Linked DNA regions of Homo sapiens: region 2 is linked to region 1. Evidence: promoter capture Hi-C in human tissues and cell types (Jung and others, 2019). All regions are on one chromosome and are shown on one strand. The core of a region is centred on a gene start or on the middle of the fragment in contact, and the rest is flanking DNA. Distances in the headings are between cores, read along the strand shown.

Evidence for each region. Contacts are between HindIII fragments. The study calls those that stand out against the background at their distance.
Region 2: a fragment that was not itself captured here is called in contact with the fragment with the promoter of MOS in region 1 in 3 of the 25 tissues and cell types used here (H1 embryonic stem cells, aorta and stomach).

The regions. Positions count from the first base shown.
Region 1 is chr8:56,111,323-56,118,965 of GRCh38, forward strand. It overlaps MOS (MOS proto-oncogene, serine/threonine kinase), which reads right to left and starts at 2,660. Exons shown (of 1, transcript NM_005372.1): 1 at 1,620-2,660. The coding sequence starts at 2,660. The coding sequence ends at 1,620. RefSeq lists enhancers at 2,039-2,539, 6,247-6,747. The HindIII fragment of the contact is 8,406 bases long and covers 1-6,698 here.
Region 2 is chr8:56,149,805-56,157,447 of GRCh38, forward strand. No RefSeq gene overlaps it. Among named protein-coding and RNA genes, the nearest start is that of MOS, 40 kb to the left of the region's middle. RefSeq lists a silencer at 7,387-7,506. The HindIII fragment of the contact is 7,248 bases long and covers 1-6,896 here.

The DNA of each region.
Region 1 (7,643 bases), core at 1,410-3,909:
GAAACCTCGTCTTTACTAAAAATACAAAAATTAGCCAGGTGTGGTGGCACGTGCCTGTAATCCCAGCTACTGGGGAGGTGGAGGTTGCAGTGAGCCAAAATTGTGCCACTACACTCCAGCCTGGGTGATGGAATGAGACCCCATCTCAAATAATAATAATAATCAGAGAAGGGAATTCTTTATCGGTATAGGTGGTTTGTTCCCCCAACTACCTGGACAGAGTTAGCAGCACTCTGTCAGTGTTTTACATGGCCACAGACAGCTCCCTTTTGCTTTTCTGAAGAACAGTTTCAAACCATGTTCTCACTCTGTAGACTCCCCTACCCTCAACCACTCTTAACAGAAAAAAAATAGAAGTTCACAGATGTGTGCTTCCCCAGTCCCCTTTTTCCTAGGGTAAATGTGTCTATAATACCAGTGTGCCCCCACCCTTGGCTCCCATCCTGGGAAGAGATGCCCTTTCTCTCCAAGATGACAATCTCTTCCCCTAGGTACTATGCTTCATCCCTTCTACAAGTATCTAAACTTTATCAATTATCTTTGCCTCTGGTGGCTCATTTTACAAATAAAATTATTTCTTTCAACCTAAAACTAAATGATACCAGATAAAAAATCTGAAAACATTTCTGTGTCTCTGACCCCCTTTTAAGCTTCCTGCCTCTCCCTCCTTAACAGTGCATGCACAGCCTCTGCTTCAGGGCCTTGCCATTCCCTCTGCCAGCCATTGCATCAGCCTTGCTTTCCACCATGCACAGAAACTGCTATTGCTAAAAGAAAGTCAAAGCTGTCCCAATGACAAAATCCAATCACCTTCTCCTTTAAATCCTATGTACCAACATCCATTGTTTTGATGTCTAGAGTGGGCAATCTAGTTCTATTTGTCTGTTCTCTTCCATCCAAATGTTAAATTTCATGATTCCTGACATCATATAATCTTTACCTTCTACTCCTACATTTTCCTCTCACATCATATAATCTTTATCTTCTACTTCTGAGTCCCAATACCAGGTAAAAATGACCCAGTTTAGAAGTGTTTTAGCAAAATGTTTCTACTCATTGCAATGCACAAGTTAAAGATATTACAATAAGTCATTTATGATATAATTCCTTTGAATGTAAATGTACCTCAGTGTATGACTTTTATGAGTGAAGGTCATTACAAACAAGAAGTTTTACTGGGGGGAGTAGTAGGAAAGCATTACTTATTTTTTTAAAAGTTTTTACTGATTTGGTGTGGGAGCAACTACACCATTAATAGTTGGAATTTATGTGGTAGGTATGGGATATATATGGATTTATAGAAAATTTTGACATTTCTGCAGTGGAGTTCTATTTTGGACAAACTTTTATCAATAACAAATTTAAATAAATGAAATACTAGCAATGGAAAGCAAAGCACATGACTATATGAATAAGATTAGTTACTAACAGTACTGAGACAACAGGTACTAGACTTGTAGCTTTGCTAATGTGTCCTAGAAAAAGCACTGGAGACTAAAGGAGTTTTTAGTAACTTTATTTTCTAAAACTCCATCCTACAAATATGTTTTCTTCGACATCTCCACTTCCTTTAAAAACAAATAGAATCAGACAAAAACTTATCTTGACCAGGTTTTCAGTCAGCCGAGTTCAGCTTTCAAAGAGGTGAGATCCACCAAAAGCAGCCGCGCGCTCGGCCTCTGCGCCGCGCTGGGTCTCCAGCAGCGCTGGATGACGTCCCCAAGGCGCTGCCCGGGGAGCGAGTCCTCGAAGACGGCAGCGGAGAGGGACGGGCGCAGGTCGTAGGCCACCACCGCGTACAGTATGTGCTGCCGCTCCCCCGAATACGGCGCCTGCTTGGTAGTCATTTGCCAGAGAGTGATGGCAAAGGAATAAATGTCGGCTTTAGGCGTCACGCCCTCTCCTTTCAGGAGCTCCGGGGCGCGGTGGGTGTATGTGCCTCCTAGAGGGTAAGAGGGTGTCTGGAAGCACAGCAGATCTTCCAACTTCTCAGAGCAACCGAAGTCACTAATTTTACAGACATCCTGCTCACTGATCAAGATGTTCGCGGGCTTCAGGTCCAAGTGCACAATGCTTTGCGAGTGGAGGAAGAGCAGGCCGTTCACAACATCTAGTGAGTACTTGAGACACTTTCCCAAACTTAACTGTCCTCCAGTGCGGCAGTGAGGCTCCCCTGCGTCCCCCTCAGGGTGGCCGGCGGCGCCATAGATGACTTGGTGTAAAGTGACGTTGCCACCGAACTCCATGATGATGGTCCCTAGGCTATTGGACCCTGCGGGCGTGCGCGTGCTGGCAGCCACCACGCGCACGATGTTATCGTGGCGCAGCCTTGCTACGTTGAGCTCAGCCCAGAAACTCCGCCGAGATGCTAGTCGGTTCTTGGTGCACTTGTTCACTTGCTTTATGGCCACAGGAACACCGCGGTAAGTCGCCTTGTACACCGAGCCAAACCCTCCAGCTCCCAGCCTCTGCAGCAAGCACACCTGCTCCCAGTCAATGGAGCACCAGGCCAGCCGGCGCGGCAGCCGCGGGGCCCGAGGAAGAGTGGCCCCCAGAAGCAGCTTCGCAGGTAGCTCTGAGGGACTGCTGCAGGGCCGCGCGTCCACCGATGGGGAAAACTCGCTCCGGAGGTAGGGGCGTAGGGCCAGGGGCGAGGGCATCGCACTTTGCAGGGGGACACCAGGGCCGCTGGAGTGAATGAAGAGACTAGGGGAAACCGCGGGACTTTGGAAACATGACTGACTACTCCTTCGCTCCACCTCATCCCTTTTCTCCTTTTCCTTCACTTGTTCCAAATGAGCTACATCTGTGCTGTCACTCAGCAAGAGTTTTTATCAGATGGAGGGAGAAACCGGAATGAAGCACAGCTATCCCTTTCAGATGAAAGCATTTCCCTTCCACACTTGAAGTGAATTCTTATAAAAACAAGCTCATGCCAGACAAACAGCATGGAGCTGCCTCAGAACTCACCCCTCTTTTACATTATTTCTTAAATTATAATAAAATACGTTTTTTTCAAGTCTCATCCGCTGCACATTATCAGTCCTCAGACTAAAGAGACCACAAAGCACAATGAAATTGTTTCACACTTTGCAGGCTGTAATGATTGTTAGTGTCATTCTCCAGCTGCATTAAATCACTTCCAGCAGGTATTGGCTAAGAGTTAAAATGCAAACAGCAGACATTTGTTTAACCAATTACAGGGAAAAACTAGGTGCAACATTCATATGGATAAAAAATTGCAACCTTAATCAATCCAAATAGAATCACTGATACAGGTCATAACACACACCTAAATTCATCAGTGGAAAGGAGAATCCCCTGACACTCTATGCAGCTTACACAGCAAATTAGCAAGACATCTTAGCAACATACTGACTTCCTAACAATCCTTCCCTTCCAAGGCGATTTGGCCCAACCGGTCAGCTCACTTGCAAGAGAGATTCTAGACTTCGTAGCAAATGAGTTACCGAAGTTTTGAACCAGAGTTGGGGGAGACAAAAGAATAGAAATGATTCAGAGCTGTGATCAGGGCTTCAAATAATAACACATATGGGAGAATTGTAGAAGAGGAAAAATCTGAAGAAATAAAAATGGCACAAAATCACTGGTACCTACATATAATGTAGAAAACCAGAAGTTGGAATGAAATTCAGGGTATTGGCCATCAGACAATAAGATCTTTCTTTCTGATTTTTATAATGAAAATTAATTTTCTACCAAGTGCAGTGAGTTATGCCTATAATACCAGTGCTTTGGGAGGCTAAGGTGGAAGGGCCACTTGAGGCCAAGAATTTGAGACCTGCCTCTACAAAAAATAATAATAAAGTTAGCTGAGTGTGGTGGTGCACTCCTATAGTCCTAGCTACTTTGGAGGCTGGGGCGGGAGGAGACTTGAACTGAGGAGTTTGAGGCTATAGTGAGCTATGATCGTGCCACTGCACACCAGGCTGGATGATGGAGCAAGATCCTGACTCTAAGCAAAAAATTAATTTCATACCATATCTTTGGAAAAAGGACCAATAATATTACCATATTCATGAGAAAACACACACACACAAAAGTGTTAGGATCTATATTTTAAAAAATCAAATGGTAAAGTTCCCTTCTTCTAAAGCACTTATGTGTTAGGTTATGTGTAACCACATTTTAATGATAGCAGTTCTGTTTTTGAAGTATATTGACTTTGAGAAGGTAAATTAATAAACATGAACCATTTACAGAAACAATTTGAGGTCTGTGAAGCCCTGGAATAGGATTTCTATTCTATACAACCTGTGTGGCTTAGTATGTGATCTAGTGTGTGTATAATATTTAACCTGCTTGAGCCTCAATCTTTTTTTTTTTTTTGAGACAGAGTTTCGCTCTTGTTGCCCAGGCTGGAGTGCAATGGCACGATCTCCGCTCACTGCAACCTCCGCCACCTGGGTTCAAGCGATTCTCCCGCCTCAGCCTCCCGAGTAGCTGGGATTACAGGCGCATGCCACCATGCCCAGCTAACTTTTGTATTTTTAGTAGAGATGGGGTTTCACCATGTTGGCCAGGCTGGTCTCAAACTCCTGACCCCAGGTGATCCACCTGCCTCAGCCTCCCAAAGTGCTAGGATTACAGGCGTGAGCCACCATGCCTGGCCAACTCTATGGAATATTTTAGTAGAAAGATTGTTGTGTGCAATTGTGTCAAACCCCAAATATAAAAGGATGCCAATGAATAGAGAAAAAGTAATACAATTATATTCTATAATAAATCTACATTGCAAAATTTACTCAGTAACTGTCACCTAGTTAGGATTATAATTCAGGGCTCTGAAATGGTTATATAATAGGAGTGCTGTGAATATTAGCAGAATGAGAGTGCCTTAACCCCCTAGATATTACACATAATGCAAGATAATGTGACTTATTATATAATCTTTATTTTTAAGATAATTGCATACACAATTCATTTTCAAAGTTGGTTTTACTCTTTACCCAAAACATAAGGTATTAGTGAAAATGTGGCATTCTGTGTATTTATAAACCCCAAGTTCATTAGATCTATCATCTGCCAATCTGCCCAAGAATATTTAATTGAATATCCAATTTACAACAGCCTTTGTTTTCTTTTTTAAGGTATCTTAAAATATTTCTTTTACTCAGCAAATTGCACTTACCCTGAAAGCAGGATTTATCTCCCTATTGATTTTTTCTCCCCGTAACACAGTGCCAAACATATTTCTTATTATGTTCTTACTTTAATTTTGCTTTTTTCTTTTTGAGACAGCGTCTCACTATGTCACCCAGGCTGGAGTGCAGTGGTGTGATCTTGGTTCACTGCAACCTCTGCCTCCTTGGCTCAAGCGATCCTCCCACCTCAGCCTCCCAAGTAGCTGGGACCACAGGCACACACCACCACACCCAACTATTTTTGTATTTTTTTGTTGAGATGGGGTTTCACCATGTTTTCCAGGCTGGTCTTGAACTCCTGAGGTCAAGCGATCTGCCCGCCTCAGCTTCCCAAAATGCTAGGATTACAGGGCACTGTGCTTGGCCCTTAACTTTAATGTTTAATCCTGATTTGGTTACCAAATATGTGTGCACTATGTAATATTTTGGATCTCAAAAATGGGTAAAGCTTTAGCATGGTGGTAAAAGGCTATTAGGGGCCAGATGGCCTGGGTTTCTTACCATCCCAGTGCCTGTTTCCTTATCTGCAAAATGAGGAAAATATGCCCATCTCAGGATTGTTGTGAAGAGTAACAGAGTTTCAAATACTTAGATCAGGGCCTCAATGCTAATTATTATTTATAAAACTCATTTAAAAAACCATGTGTATGGGCTTATACGAATAAGAAACATATTTGTTAGGTAGTATTGGTTTAAAAGTATCCTATCAGGGCTGAAATAACTCGTTTTCATGTTAAACTAACATACAATTTGAGTATTTTTCTGCTCTTGAATTTTGCGGTTAAAGGTATAAAATCCTGCTGTATTAATGGTACAGCATGTAGTAAAAACGTGGGTGGAAGGTTAACACTAATCTGATCAAATGCAATATGCCTATGTCATCCCCCAAAGGCAAAGAGCAAAATGTGTTGATAACAAGGAATTCTCCTTGGAATTATATATGAAACAAAGGAGACAAGATAAACTGCACCTCCTGAGGAGCGAAATGCTCTCGTGTTCTTAGCGCACAGGCTTTACGTGTTTTGTTCTTTGATTGGCAGCATGACTATTAAGATACTTTCGTATCAAACACCATATTTATCACAAGAGTAACAACAGATACCGGAACGGATAGCTCCTTTTAATTTGACTTTAATCAGAGCCTGAGGATCGCGGATAGTGGGAGAACGTCCTCCTGACCAACGTGGTTGGCTTTCTGGGCACGCTGGGCCTGAGCCGCCCCAGCTCCCGGGGCGCGCACCGGGTTCCACGGGTACCGTGGACGGCGGGGCGCTGCGCCCTCCCTGCCTCCTGCACTTGCTGCGCTGGGGCCGAGGAGGTGGCTCTGCCTTTCTTGATTCCCCAGTCTCTGGAAGACAAGCCGCCCTCGCCGCCTCCTGGCTACCCGTGGGCTCGCCCTCGGGCTCGCCCGCTGGTGCTTTTGTGCGTTTCCTAGTGCACGGGCTTTGGGCGCGCTGGTGCCCGGAAGCACGTGGGCGAGGCCGTCGGTCCCCGAAAGACGCTCAGAGTGCGCCCAGCCTGCCCTTCTGCGTACGCAACAAATTTTCCTTTCTCTTTAGAGTCATCACGTCGTCTTTTGGAAGGCAGTCTTAAAAAGGCCCAGAAGCTCAACAGCAGTCTCAACAGCACATAAAACCCCACCGACGGCGGCCGCGCTTGCGCCTGCGCACTCTTGACGGCCGCCCGAGTCCTGGCAGGGGACCGCCAGGTTAAGAGATCTCGGGTGACAGCGGATTCGAGAGGTTACAGTGGATTCCAGAGGTTACAGTGCGAAGAGCGCGAGTATTGCAACCGTGCAAGTGTGGTATTGCTGGTTACAACCGTGGATTTCATCGTCGAAATTTCACTTTTGCCTTTTTTAAGACTAAAAAGTTAAGCTGTAGATGAATATATACGCTTTACTAAAAATTCCCATACAAAGATTATAGACTCAAACTTGAAAAACATATCAATTTTTTTTTACTTCAGTGGGATTATACTATTGACATTCTAAAATTTGAATTTTATACTTAGCAATATAACATAGACTTGTTTCTATGTCAGTAAAGTACATATACAGCTACTTTAATTTTTATATGGTCCATATAATATGGTCGGGGCAGATCTTAGTTTGTGGATTGCATGGAGCACGTCCCTGGATGTGACCAGCGCACACTATCTGTTTCCATGCGGGGAGGTTGGGGTTGGTTGCTTCCACTTTGCCCTGATCGCTTGGGTTTTGTATTTTGACTCTGGAGATACGTAAATAAAATTTTACTTGTCTAAATACAGCTAAACTTCACAAAAGGTTTTAAGACATACAAATGTGTTTCAAACTGGTTTTGGAAACCTTTGAATTTAATGATATCTTGCAAGTTTCTCATGTTTTTAAGAACATAAAATGCTTATAGATATTTGAAATTTTGAAATTTGATCTGATTAAAATGCGGCTGTCTTGAATGATTTTGTCCAATTTATGATCACATACTGGCATCTTCC
Region 2 (7,643 bases), core at 2,023-4,522, 39 kb after region 1:
GGTGCTCCTGTATTGGGTGCATATATATTTAGGATAGTTAGCTCTTCTTGTTGAATTGATCCCTTTACCATTATGTAATGGCCTTCTTTGTCTCTTTTGATCTTTGTTGGTTTAAAGTCTGTTTTATCAGAGATGAGGATTGCAACCCCTGCTTTTTTTTTTGTTTTCCATTTGCTTGGTAGATCTTCCTACATCCCTTTATTTTGAGCCTATCTGTTTCTCTGCATGTGAGATGGGTCTCCTGAATACAGCACACTGACAGTTCTTGACTCTACCCAATTAGCCAGTCTGTGTCTTTTAATTGGAGCATTTAGCCAATTTCCATTTAAGGTTAATATTGTTACTTGTGAATTTGATCCTGTCATTATGATGTTAGCTGGTTATTTTGCTCCTTAGTTGGTGCAGTTTCTTCCTAGCATCAATGGTCTTTACAATTTGGCATGTTTTTGCAGTGGCTGGTACCTGTTATTCCTTTCCATGTTTAGTGCTTCCTTCAGGAGCTCTTGTAAGGCAGGCCTGGTGGTGGCAGAATCTCTCAGCATTTGATTGTCTGTAAAGGACTTTATTTCTCCTTCACTTATGAAGCTTAGTTTGGCTGGATATGAAATTCTGGGTTGCAAATTCTTTACTTTAAGAATGTTGAATATTGGCCCCCACTCTCTTCTGGCTTGTAGAGTTTCTGCAGAGAGATCAGCTGTTAGTCTGATGGGCTTCCCTTTGTGGGTAACCCGACCTTTCTGTCTCTCTGCCCTTAACATTTTTTCCCTCATTTCAACTTTGGTGAATCTGACAATTATGTGTCTTGGAGTTGCTCTTCTCGAGGAGTATTTTTGTGGCATTCTCTGTATTTCCTGAATTTGAATGTTGGCCTGCCTTGCTAGGTTGGGGACGTTCTCCTGGATAACATCCTGCAGAGTGTTTTCCAACTTGGTTCCATTCTCCCCATCACTTTCAGGTACACCAATCAGAAGTAGATTTGGTCTTTTCACATAGTCCCATATTTCTTGGAGGCTTTGTTCATTTCTTTTTACTATTTTTTCTCTAAACTTCTCTTCTCTCTTCATTTCATTCATTTGATCTTCAATCACTGATACCCTTTCTTCCACGTGATCGAATTGGCTACTGAAGCTTGTGCATGCATCACGTGGTTCTCTTGCCAAGGTTTTCAGCTCCATCAGGTCATTTAAGGTCTTCTCTAAGCTGTTTATTCTAGTTAGCCATTGGTCTAATCTTTTTTCAAGGTTTTTAGCTTCTTTGCGATGGGTTCAAACATCCTCCTTTAGCTTGGAGAAGTTTGTTATTACTGACCGTTTGAAGCCTTCTTCTCTCAACTCCTCAGAGTCATTCTCCATCCAGCTTTGTTCCATCGCTGGCGAGGAGCTGCATTCCTTTGGAGGAGAAGAGGCGCTCTGATGTTTAGAATTTTCAGCTTTTCTGCTCTGGTTTCTCCCCATCTTTGTGGTGTTATCTACTTTTGGTCTTTGATGATGGTGATGTACAGATGGGGTTTTGATGTGGATGTCCTTTCTGTTTGTTAGTTTTCCTTCTAACAGTCAGGACCCTCAGCTGCAGGTCTGTTGGAGTTTGCTGGAGGTCCACTCCAGACCCTTTTTGGAGGTCCACTCCAGACCCTTTTTGCCTGGTTATCACCAGCGGAGGCTGCCGAACAGCAAATATTGCAGAATGGCAAATGTTGCTGCCTGATCCTTCCTCTGGAAGCTTTGTCTTAGAGGGACACCCAGCCGTATGAGGTGTCAGTTGGTCCCTACTGGGAGGTGCCTGCCAGTTAGGCTCCCCTGGGGTCAGGGATCCACTTGAGGAGGCAGTCTGTCCGTTCTCAGATCTCAAACTCCATGCTGGGAGAACCACTACTCTCTTCAAAGCTGTCAGACAGGGATATTTAAGTCTGCAGAAGTTTCTGCTGCCTTTTGTTCAGCTATGCCCTGCCCCTAGAAGTGGAGTCTACAGTGGTAGGCAGGCCTCCTTGAGCTGCAGTGGGCTCCACCCAGTTCGAGCTTCTGAGCCGCTTTGTTTACCTACTCAAGCCTCAGCAATGGCAGATGCCCCTTGCGCAGCCTTGCTGCTGCCTTGCAGTTCGATCTCAGACTGCTTTGCTAGCAGTGAGCGAGGCTCCATGGGCATAGGACCCTCCGAGCTAGGTGCGGGATATAATTTCCTGGTGTGCCATTTGCTAAGACCATTGGAAAAGCACAGTATTAGGGTGGGAGTGTCCCGATTTTCCAGGTACCATCTGTCATGGCTTCCTTTGGCTAGGAAAGGGAATTCCCCAACCCCTTGCACTTCCCGAGTGAGGTGATGCCCTGCCCTGCTTTGGCTCATGGTCCGTGGGCTGCACCCACTGTCCATCAAGTCCCAGTGAGATGAACCTGGTACCTCAGTTGGAAATGCGGAAATCACCTGTACTCTGCGTCGCTCATGCTGGGAGCTGTAGACTGGAGCTGTTCCTATTCGGCCATCTTGGAACCTCTCCCAAACCCAGCTATATTTTAAACGGATAACATGACTAAACTGAAAGTGATGGGGGGTAACTGTGAACACAGTATTTTGACTACACGCCTTTGGGGTAAAGACCAAAAGAACTGTAAACAAGTACTATGCTGCTCTTGTGAGTAGATATGGGTTAGCAATTATGAAGTACTTTTATGTATATTATAAAATTGTGTAAGTAAGTAAATACATTGTGGATAATAAGAACCAGGAGAAGAGAGTTAATATTTAAAAAGGGGGAAGGTTAGACTGAACTCTGAGTTGTTGTATTAAAATTTGCTGATGCATAACTATGGACTGGTAGAGATATATCTATCTGTATGTATATATATCTCTATATCTATAGAGATAGATACACACACACATATATACACACTTTTCCTCATATATTCACAAGAAAACTTCAGATCAACATCTCTCATGAACACAGACATGAAAATCCCTAACAAAATATTAGCAAATAAAATCCAGTAGTCCATAAAAAAGGATAATACTGCGCAACGAAGTTGGGCTCATCTCAGGAATATAGGGCTGGTTCAGCATTCAAAATCAATCAGTGCAACTCACTATATGAGTAGACTAGATAAGAAAAAACATATCAGTGAATGAAGAACAAACATTCAACAAAATTCAACATCTACTCATAATTTTAAAAAACTCATACAAACTAGAAGTTGAAAGGAATTTCCTTAACTTAATAAAAGATGTTTATGAAAAACTTCCAACTAACATCATACTTCATGGTGAGAGACTGAATACTTTCCCTATAAAAATACAGAAAAAGGCAAAGGTGTTTTTAATTAACACATTTACTTAACATCATCTTAGAAGTTCTAGCTAGTTCAATAAGGCAAGAAAAAGGAATAAAAGGCATATACAGCAGAAAGCAAGAAACACACACACACACACACACACACACACACACACCCCTACCTGGAACTAATAAGTGAGTTTAGCAAGGTCACAGGATATAAGGTTAATATACAAAAGTCAATTTTATTCTTATACATCACCAATAGAAACTGGAATCTGAAATTTAAAAAAATACCATTTACAATAACACTAAAGGAGTACTTAGATATAAGTCTTATAATATATGTGGGAGATTTGTATGTAGAAAACTATACAATACCAATGAAACAAAGAAGATCTAAATGACTGAAGAAAGATACTAAGTTCATGGATTGAAAGACTTAATATTTGAAAGGTGTTCATGTTTCCCAAATTATATATGCAACACAACCCAAATAAAAATCCAAAGAAACTTTTTAATAGGTATCAATATGTAGATTCTAAAATATATACAATCTATGTAATGTACACAGAACCAAAGGAATAGCCAAGGCAACTCTTAAAAAGGAAAATATACTCGGAAGATGCATGTGTCCTGATTTCAAGACTATTATAGTAATTATGATAGTGTGAGACTGGTGAAGTGATAAATACACACATCAATAGAACAGAATAGAAAAGCCAGAAATGAACAAGCGGTCCTAAAACAAATGACCATCCATTTGCAAAAAAAAAAAAAAAAAAAAAACCCAAATCACACGAACCTCAAACCTAATATACTTTACATCTTATACAAAAATTAAATCATGGTCTACATGTAAAACATAACAATACACAACCTATAGAAAAAAATCTAGAATATCTTCATGACCTTAGGTTTGGTTATAAATTTTTAGATACAATTTCAAAAGCCCAATCCACAAAAGAAAAAAATACATAAATTGGACTTTACAAAAATGGAAAACTTTTGCTTTTTTTGATACTGTTGAAACAATGAAAAGACCAGCCACAGACTGGGAGAAAATGTTTGTAAATCGTTTATCTGATAAAGCATTCATATCTAGAATGCATAAGGAATTCTTAAAACTCAACAATAAAAAAATCAACCTAATACAAAATTAATCCAATAAAAAATAGACAAAGGATCTGAACAGATATTTTACTAAAAATGTTTTATGCAGTTGGAAAATAAACATATAAAGGTTCTCAACATCATTTGTTATTGGGAAATGTAAATTAAAACAACAATTAGCTAAAACCCCCTGAGACCAATATCAAAACAGCTTAAGAATGTGGGGCAACAGAAATTCTCATTCATTATTTATGGGAATAAAAAACTGGTACAGCCATTTTGGAAGACAGGATGAAAGTTTGTTATAAAGTTAATCATAGACTTATATGACCTAGGCATCACACAGAATCTTTGCTACCTACAAAGATTACACACACACACACACACACACACACACACACACACACACACACAAAATCCTTCATTCCTATTGTATGTAAAGGCCATAAACCCATAAAAACTGGGAACTTTTTCTGAGAATTAACAGATTCCATACGTTTTTCAGATGCAGATATTATAAACCAAGGCAAATAAAATTCACTTTCCAAGTGTATCACACTCCCGGGGCAACTAAATCTCAGATAGAACTTTGTAGTCTTACTGACTTGAAAAATCAGACAATAGAGTTTGGAGGGAAAACAGCAGCTGGAAAGTGAAGGAGGAGGTGAGAATCCCAGAAAGCAGAGAGACCCAGAACAGGAGGCAAATTCTGTATATAAACTTTGCCCACATTTCTGTCTGACTCTTGTACCCATACAATGGGCAGACCCCAAGGGGCCAAATTTAGGCTAAAAGAATCTATATATCAGAGTCTGGGCGAGGCGGCTCATGCCTGTAATCGCAAGCACTTTGGGAAGCCCAGGCAGGTGGATCACCTGAGGTCAGGAGTTCGAGACCAGCCTGGCCAACATGGTGAAACCCCGTCTCTACTAAAAATACAAAAATTAGCTGGGTGTGGTGGCACTCACCTGTAATCGCAGCTACTTGGGAGACTGAGGCAGGAGAATCGTTTAAACCTGGGAGGCGGATGTTGCAGTGAGCCAAGATAGCGCCACTGCACTCCAGCCTGCGTGAGGGAGCAAGACTCCGTCTCAGAACAAAACAAAACAAAACAACAACAACAACGACGAACAGGAACATGTGAGCCATAGACAAGAGAAAAGGTGATCCGTGGGAAGACCCTGGGAAGGAGCAATGGCTGGGATCAGCAGAAAAGGATCTGAAGGTGATACTGAAAGACATAAAAGTACATGCTCACTGAATGAACACATAGGAAATCTCAATAGAGAAAGAGAAATGATAATAAAGAACGAAATAAAGATTATAGCACTTAATCCGCCATCAGAATACATTTAATTAGATGGTCATCCAGAGTTATGGAAAATAATAATGCTAAAGTTTCCTTGCAAAATATTAGAGTGTGCCATGGGGTGTGTGTAGGTGGGGGTGGTAAATGGGTCCATTTGTGAGGAACAGGGTAGAGAAAAGGAGTAGGGAAGAATTAGTGTGTTATGGGGCGTTCTCAATGGAGGAAAATAGTTCGTATTTTCATCTACAAATAAAAGAAGAGTCATGTGTGATAAGAATTAAAAAGCAGGGGAAGGCCGGACGTGGTGGCTCACACCTGTAATCCCGGCACTTTGGGAGGCGGAGGCAGACTGATCACCTGAGGTCAGAAGTTCGAGACCAGCCTGGCCAACATGGCGAAACCCCGTCTCCACTAAAAATACAAAAAATTAGCCAGGCGTGATGGCACTCACCTGTAATACCAGTTACTTGGGAGGCTGAGACAGGAGAATGGCTTGAACCCGGGAGGGGAAGGTTGCAGTGAGTGAGATCGCGCCACTGCACTCCAGCCTGGGCAACAGAGCAAGACTCCATCTCAAAAACACAAAAACAAAACAAACAAAAAATAAAAAGCAGGGGAAAAGGGACTGTAGTGATTAAAGAGACTAAAACATACAAAGCAACATCAAAGTTAAAAAAGGGAAGAAGTGGAATGATTAACAACTCTATCAAACTCAGAAAAATAAGGTAAACGAAAAAGAGAAACCATCCTTAAAGTAATAAGCACAGAGTAAGAGGAATAAAATCAGTCTTAACTATGAATGAACTGAATAAACTCATTAAAGACAAAGAATGTTAGATTAGGTGAAAATTGAAAACCAATAGTAAACTATCACACACATAAAACTATCACACACATAAAATTAAAGCAAACAAATCTCACATCACAAATGATGGTGAGATTTTTTGAGTGTCAGCTTGGTGAAGTCAGACTAGAAGGGCGACAGACATAAAAGGGAGTCTCCTTTCAGTGGAGATGAAAGACTCTCAGCATGCAAATCCTGTGGCAGCACAGGTGAGACTCTGCAGGGAATAGGCGATTTCCTGGCAATTCCAAGTCCCCAAATGGATCCAAGAACAACTGGAGCATTTGAAGTGAGCAATTGCCTGAGTAAAGATGGGAAGGAGGAACTGCCCTGAGGAAGGGGCGCCTCAAGCACCATCCGCCTTTTATAGAGCAGGCTGAATTTCCCATAGTTAAGCTCTTCCAGAACGGCAAGAAAATCAGCCCCATCCTCCACCCTCCTCCCCGCCCAACCAGTCTTTCTAAAGCCAAAATAACTTGAGTTCCAAAGGCTAATAAATTCAGTAAAAAGGAAACTAGGTACCGATTTCACATATTGATATGGAGTCAAATGTTTAAACAAAGTATTAGCATAGAGAATCCAGTAATGTGTCGACAACAAGCAGATAGTTCCCAAAATGCCAACCTGTTTCAACAAAGATGAAAACACCAATAAACGAAAAGTAGAAAAACCTATGTGGACGCATCAACAGATGCTGAAAAGGCATTTCCTAGAAGTCGGCAGCCAAACTTGGTAATTCTTGCGTGTGATAAAGGCAGCCGTCTGTTCTGCTCAGAAGGGGTTTCCTAACAGGAGGGGCCGAATGCAGGCGTCACATCCACGCCGCCCCAGGTCGTACACCTAGGCCGTCCGGGCTGTCCCAGAGCCGCAGGCCCCGCATCATCCGCGTCCTTAGCGCGGGGCGCGGAGCCCGCAGCCAGGTGCGGCCGAGACCCGCGCGCCAGGGAAAGCGGCGCAGCGGACGCGGGAGAAGGCTGGTGGGTACAGGTTGCCTCCGGGCCGGAGCGCCCATGCAGGGCGAGCTGCGCTCCGCACAAAATTGCGGTGGGGGCGCCAGACCGCCTTGCTCCGCCCCTGAGCGGGGCGCCCCGGCCCAACCCCCTGAGGGAGGAGGGTCC